Regions from separate parts of the Homo sapiens genome. Here region 2 is linked to region 1. Evidence: promoter capture Hi-C in human tissues and cell types (Jung and others, 2019). All regions are on one chromosome and are shown on one strand. Each heading gives the region's core, a stretch centred on a gene start or on the middle of the fragment in contact. The rest is flanking DNA. Distances are from core to core; before and after follow the strand shown.

Evidence for each region. Contacts are between HindIII fragments. The study calls those that stand out against the background at their distance.
Region 2: a contact is called between a fragment that was not itself captured here and the fragment with the promoter of BAIAP2L1 in region 1, in 1 of the 25 tissues and cell types used here (liver).

The regions. Positions count from the first base shown.
Region 1 is chr7:98,399,664-98,403,038 of GRCh38, reverse strand. It overlaps BAIAP2L1 (BAR/IMD domain containing adaptor protein 2 like 1), which reads left to right and starts at 1,949. Exons shown (of 14, transcript NM_018842.5): 1 at 1,949-2,237. The coding sequence starts at 2,187. RefSeq lists a silencer at 1,616-2,275. The HindIII fragment of the contact is 4,393 bases long and covers 637-3,375 here.
Region 2 is chr7:98,266,377-98,269,640 of GRCh38, reverse strand. LOC124901705 (a long non-coding RNA gene) reads left to right here. Exons shown (of 3, transcript XR_007060446.1): 2 at 1,128-1,250; 3 at 2,280-2,413. Among named protein-coding and RNA genes, the nearest start is that of BRI3, 14 kb to the left of the region's middle. The HindIII fragment of the contact is 6,745 bases long and covers 1-3,264 here.

The DNA of each region.
Region 1 (3,375 bases), core at 700-3,199:
AATTATATTTTTTGCAGAGATGGGGGTGGGCTCCCTATATTGCCTAGGCTGGCCTCGAACTCCTAGACTCAACCAGTCCTCCTGCCTTGGTCTCCCGAAGTGCTCGGATTACAGGCATGAGCCATCCTGCCTGGCCCCCAGATAGAAGCTTTTTGTTTGTTTGTTTTTGAGACAGAGTTTCGCTCTTGTCCCTCAGGCTGGAGTGCAGTGGTGCTATCTCAGCTCACTGCAATCTCTGCCTCCCAGGTTTAAGCAATTCTCCTGCCTCAGCCTCCCGAGTAGCTGAGATTACAGGTGCACGTGCTACCATGCCTGGCTAATTTTTGTATTTTTAGTAGAGACGGGGGCAGGGCGGTTTCACCATGTTGGCTAGGCTGGTCTCGAACTCCTGACCTCAAGTGATCCGCCTGCCTTGGCCTCCCAAAGTGCTAGGATTACAGGCATGAGCCACCAAGCCCAGAGGTTTTAAAAAATCAGAATAAGACCTCTGCCCTTGTTGGGTGCGGGTCTCAGGTAGCTAAATGGTGGTTCTTACTGGGGAGAAGGCTGTCACCCAGCCCAAGGTACATAATCCTGGAAGAGAGGCCCAAAGAAGGCAGCTGCCTCACCCTTGGGCAGGGCTGAGGCCGGGATGGAGACAAAATAGGGAGCCCAGGAGCCACACACCTCCACAGAGTTTGAGTGATGACAAGAAGAGAGGCTTCCCTAACACTTCAGCTCAGGTGGTTTTCTAAACCCTACAACAATCTCGTGAGTAGCATGGTTACACTGCATTGAGTTAAAGGTCGTTGTTAATGTAAAGTTTAAAAATGTACTACTGGGCCGGGCGCGGTGGTTCAAGCCTGTAATCCCAGCACTTTGGGAGGCTGAGCAGGGCGGATCACCTGAGGTTAGGAGCTCGGGACCAACCTGGCCAACATGGTGAAACCCCGTCTCTACTAAAAATACAAAAAAATTAGCCTGGCTTGGTGGCACGTGCACCTGTAATCTCAGCTACTCGAGAGGCTGAGGCAGGAGAATTGCTTAAACCTGGGGGGCAGAGATTGCAGCAAGCTGAGAGAGCACCACTGCACTCCAGCCTGAGGGGACAAGAGTGAAACTCTGTCTCAAAAACAAACAAAAAGCTTCTATCTGGGGGCCAGGCAGGATGGCTCATGCCAGGCAGGAGAATCGCTTGAACCTGGGAAGCGGAGGTTGCAGCAAGCTGAGATCGCACCACTGCACTCCAGCCTAGGCGACAGAGTGAGACTCCATCTCAAAAAAAAAAAAGTACTAACATTTCGGTAACTAGACCCTGGCATTTATTAATTTTTTGATATATCAGGAGCTTTCAAAACTGCAAGTGGCAGCCCGTTTTCTCCACCTAGGAGGGCCGATGCCCCCACGGGTCCCTCTAACTTTTGGGGTCAGTGAGCGGCGGGGCAAGAAGAGATCAATCAGGGAAATCAATACAACTGGGGAATGTGGCCCCTTCCCTTGGTCCCCAAAACGCAGGGCTTGAAGGAAGCCCTCATGGAGGAAGTGGGCCTCGGGGTCCCCGGGGCCAGCACCACGCGAGGCAAACAAGGGCTCCAGGACCACAGTCTAAACACCCCCAGGCTGCCCTTGCCCTAGCAAAACAGCAAAGCGAGCAGCCCACTCCACACCGGTCCCCACTCCAGGGTCTCGGGCCCTACGTCGCCGGAGCTCTGGGAGAGCCGCGAGGGGGCGCACCGTGGCCTCGCTGCCCTGTCCGCCACAGGTGGGGTGACCCCGCCCACTCGGGGGGCCCGCTTCCCTCTGGCCACGCCCATTCCAGCTGCCTGGCCCCGCCTCCTCCCCGCCCACCCCGGCCGGGCCCCGCTCACCAGGCCGCCTCAGGTGGGTACGCCACGCCCCTCCGGCCCTGCGGCCCCGCCCCCGTCTGCCCCGCCCGCCTCAGGTGGGGCCGCCCGGCCCGCCCAGCTTCCTCTGGCGGCGTCCGGCCGCTTCTCCTCTGCTCCTCGAAGAAGGCCAGGGCGGCGCTGCCGCAAGTTTTGACATTTTCGCAGCGGAGACGCGCGCGGGCACTCTCGGGCCGACGGCTGCGGCGGCGGCCGACCCTCCAGAGCCCCTTAGTCGCGCCCCGGCCCTCCCGCTGCCCGGAGTCCGGCGGCCACGAGGCCCAGCCGCGTCCTCCCGCGCTTGCTCGCCCGGCGGCCGCAGCCATGTCCCGGGGGCCCGAGGAGGTGAACCGGCTCACGGAGAGCACCTACCGGGTAAGCCCAGGGCCCGGGGCTCAGGGAGGTCAGGGCTTTCCACCTCGGGGTTCAGAAGGGGACTTTACGCGGGAAGGTACTTTCCCTCCCTCCAGCTCCCCTCCCCCGCGTCCTTCCACCTCTCCCGGTCTCTCCCACTCCTCCCCTGGCCCTCCACAGCCCCTCTTCTTCCTCCCCTGGCCCTCTCCTTCCTCCCAGTCCCTCCCCATCCCCTCCCCCCTACTTTTCCTCCTCCTTCCCTCCCCTCCTCCCTGTGCTTCTTCCCTGTCTCTCTTTCCCGCCCCGCTGTACCTCTCCCTCTGCCCCTCCGCTCCCCGTTCACTCTCCCTCCTCCCCTGCCCCTCGACACTGTCCCTCCCCTCCTCCTGGTTCTTCCTTCTCCCCCGTGTGTCTCCCCCTCCTCCCCTGTCCCTTCTTCTCCCCAGTCTATCCCCCTCCCTCCCCCTCCCCCTCCCCCTCCTCTTGGTTCTTCCTCCTTCCCCGTGTGTCTCCCCCTCCTCTCCTGGCCCTTCTCCGCCTCCCCTGTCCCTTCTCCTCCCCGTCCCTTCTCCTCTTCCCTGACCCTCAGAGCTCTGGAGACCACCCCCCATCCCCTGACCAGCTACACATTTTACAACTAGTGCACTTAAGTTGGGGAGGGGTCTGTTGTGCGTCGGTGGGGCCCACGTCCTCCTCCCAACTTCTTGGAATCAGTGACCCGTGCTGTCCTGGCTGCCGGGCTTAAGCCCTCCGGGACCAAAGACACAAGCTCGAGTTTCCTCTAAGAAAAGAAAGCGCCCAAGAATGTGGGGGTGAAACTCCCCTGTAATTAGGATCGCCAGGTGAGCCGAGCTCTGGGCGTTCTCCCGGGAAACGCCCTCCTCCTTAGACCCTTCCTCTCCCACCTTTCAGTTGAACTTGGCTTTTATATATGGGTTATTTGGTGAGGTTCTTGAAGTCAAAGAACAACCGAGGTTTTAATGAAATTGACCTAACCTTAAGGAATGCGTTGATAGCCGGTCTCTTAACTTGCATGTATTAGGAGAGAATTTTTCCAGACACAGACAGAGACTTAGGATTAGTGGCCTGTTTAGTTTACATACTTACAAATGAATTCCAGGTGAAATAAGATATCTGTTAATCATCTGCTATTAATAGA
Region 2 (3,264 bases), core at 25-2,524, 130 kb after region 1:
ATGCCTGGTGGCTCATGCCTATAATCTCAGCACTTTGGGAGGCTGAGGCGGGAGGATGGCTTGAGCCCAGGAGTTTGAGACCAGCCTGGGCAACACAGTGAAACCCCATCTCTACAAAAAATAAAAATTTAAAAAAAAAAAAGATCATCATTCATTCATTCTTTTTAGTGGATCATTTTCCTTACTTTCCTGGGACAATTCCTTTTTGCATTTATAATATAGCATTAGAAAAAGGGATATGGGCCGGGAACGGTGGCTCATGCCTGTAACCCCAGCACTTTGGGAGCCAAGGCAGATGGATCACCTGAGGTCAGGAGTTCGAGACCAGCCTGGCCAACATGGTGAAACCCCATGTCTACTAAAAATACAAAAACTAACCAGGTGTGGTGGTGCGCACCTGTAGTCCCAACTACTCAGGAGGCTGAGGTGGAAGGATCGCTTGAGGCCACAAGGTCAAGACACGCCTCCCAAAGTGCTGGGATTACAGGTGTGAGCCACCATGCCTGGCCCCTCTTTAGTTTTTGAGAAACCCTTTTCCATGGAAACATACAATGCTCCTGTATTCCTGTATCCAGGAACTACGACTTGTAGTCTGTCGTGTGTGTGTGTGTGTGTGTGTGTGTGTGTGTGTGTGTGTGTGTGTGTACAGCCTTATTGAGGTGTAATAATGGTGTCTTGCTTTTTTTTTTTTTAAGAGACAGGGTCTTGCTGTGTTGCCCAGGCTGGTCTCAAACTCCTAAGCTCAAGTGATCCTCCTGCCTTGGCCTGCCAAAGTGGTGGGATTCAGGTGTGAGCCACTGCTCCTAGCCCTTGTGTCTTGCTTTTAAAGCCTACACAGCCTTCTTATCCATCTCATGACCTAGACTAGTCCCAGCCCCTGTCACCTGCAAGCTTCCCATCTCTGCGTACCCCTTCCACCATCAGAGTAATCTTCCTTGAGTGACTGTGCTCAGCTGAGCCACCAGCTCTCCCTGCTTAAAAACCTTCAGTGGCTCTCAGCAGCCCATGGTGTGAGATCCTGGCCCTTCAGCGTGCCATTCAGGACCACCCTGCCCTGCATCCGTTGACCCTGAGTGCCCAACAGAAGCACCTTCCACATAAGCTGGTCTTTTTTTTTTTTTTTTTAGAAGGAGTTTCGCTCTTGCTGCCCAGGCTGGAGTGCAGTGGCACAATCTCACATCACCACAACCTCCGCCTCCGGGGTTCAAGCAATTCTCCTGCCTCAGCCTCCCGAGTAGCTGGGATTACAGGTATGTGCCACCATTCCCAGCTAATTTTGCATTTTTTACTATGGACGGGGTTTCTCCATGTTGGTCAGGCCAGTCTCGAACTCCCAACCTCAGGTGAGGAGGTCAGGTGATCCACCCACCTCGGCCTCCCAAAGTGCTGGGATTATACGTGTGTGCCAGCGTGCCCACCAGTTCTTTTTCTTTTTGAGACAGAGTCTTGCTCTGTCGCCCAGGCTGGAATGCAGCGGTGTGATCTCAGCTCACTGCAACCTCTGCCTCCCGGGTTCAAGCAATTCTCTTGACTCAGCCTCCCGAGTGGCTGGGATTACAGGCATGTGCCACCATGCCAGGCTAATTTTTGTATTTTTAGTAGAGATGTGGTTTTACCCTGTTGGCCAGGCTGCTCTCGAACTCCTGATCTCAGGTTATCAGCCCACCTTGGCCTCCCAAAGTGTTGGGATTACAGGCGTGAGCCAGTGCACCTGGCCTCCTTTATGTTTGTCTTAATTTGACTTCCTTGAGATCAGTAGGCATATTTATCTATGGCTCCCTCTCCATACCAAAATCAAATTATCTTTCTCCCAGTCATTTCACTGCGGCTGACAGACCCTTGGGTGGCTCCCAGCCTCTCTGCCTCCTATGTAACCCCCTTTCCTTGAATTGAACTCTATCTTCCTTCTAGCTAATAGAATATGGAAAAGATGAAAGGGTTTGGCAGATGTACTTAACTGAATTGAGTTGCTTTTGAGTTCATCAAAAGGGAGAATATCTTGGGTGAGCTTGGTTTAATTAATAGAAGCCCTTGGAAGAGGGATTTGGCCCTTTTGGAGGCTAGAGCCTCTGTCCTGCTGGCCTTGCAGAAGCAAGCAACTATGTTGTGATCAGCCCCTGGAGAGGGTCATGTGGCAGGAAATGGTAGGTGGCTCCAGGACCTGAGGGAAGACAGCAGTCAGCAAGACACAGGGTGCCTTCCATCATCGGTTGCAAGGAAATGAATTCTGCCAAGTTGGACGAGCTTGACAGCAGATTATTCCCCACTCGCACCTCCAGATGAGAATGCAGCCTCTCCCTCCAACACCTTGAATGTAACCCCAAGAGACCCTGAGCAGAAGACACAGCCAAGCAGTGCCCAGACTTCGCCAATGGAAACTGTGGAAGAATAAATGTGTGCTGTTGGGAGCTGATAAATTTGTGACCATTTGTTGTGCAGTGTCTTAGTTTCTTTGGGATGTTATAACAAAATATCTTAGACTGGGTAATTTATAAATGACAGAAATTTATTTCTCATGGTTCTAGAGACTGGGGAGTCCAATATAAAGTCCCCAGCAGATTCAGTGCTTGGTCAGGGCTCACTCTTGCTTCATAGTTGCCCACTTGCTGTGCCACCATGTGGCAGATGGAGTGAACAGCTGCCTCAAACCTTTTTTTTTAAAGTTATTATTATTATTATTATTTTTTATTTTTTATTTTTTGAGACAGTCTTGCTGTGTCGCCCAGACTGGAGTGCAATGGTGTGATTTTGGCTCACTGCAACCTCCTGCAGCCTCCGTCTCCAGGGTTCAAGCAATCCTCCTGCCTCAGCCTCCCGAGTAGCTGGGATTACAGGCATGTGCCATCATGTCTGGCTGATTTTTCTATTTTTAGTAGAGACGGGGTTTCACCATGTTGGCCAGGCTGGTCTCGAACTCCTCACCTTACGTGATCTGCCCGCCTCAGCCTCCCAAAGTGCTGGGATTACAGGCATGAGCCACTGTGCCCGGCCTATGTTTTTCTTTTTTTTTTTTTGAGACAGAGTCTCACTCTGTTGCCCAGGATGGAGTGCAGTGGTGTGATCTTGGCTCACTGCAAGCTCCGCCTCCCAGGTTCACGCCATTCTCCTGCCTCAGCCTCCCGAGTAGCTGGGACTATAGGCGCCCGCCACCACGCCTGGCTAATTTTTTGTATTTTTAGTAGAGATGGGGTTTCACCGTGTTAGCCAGGACAGTCTCGATCTCCTGACCTTGTGATCCGCCCATCTCAGCCTCCCATAGTGCTG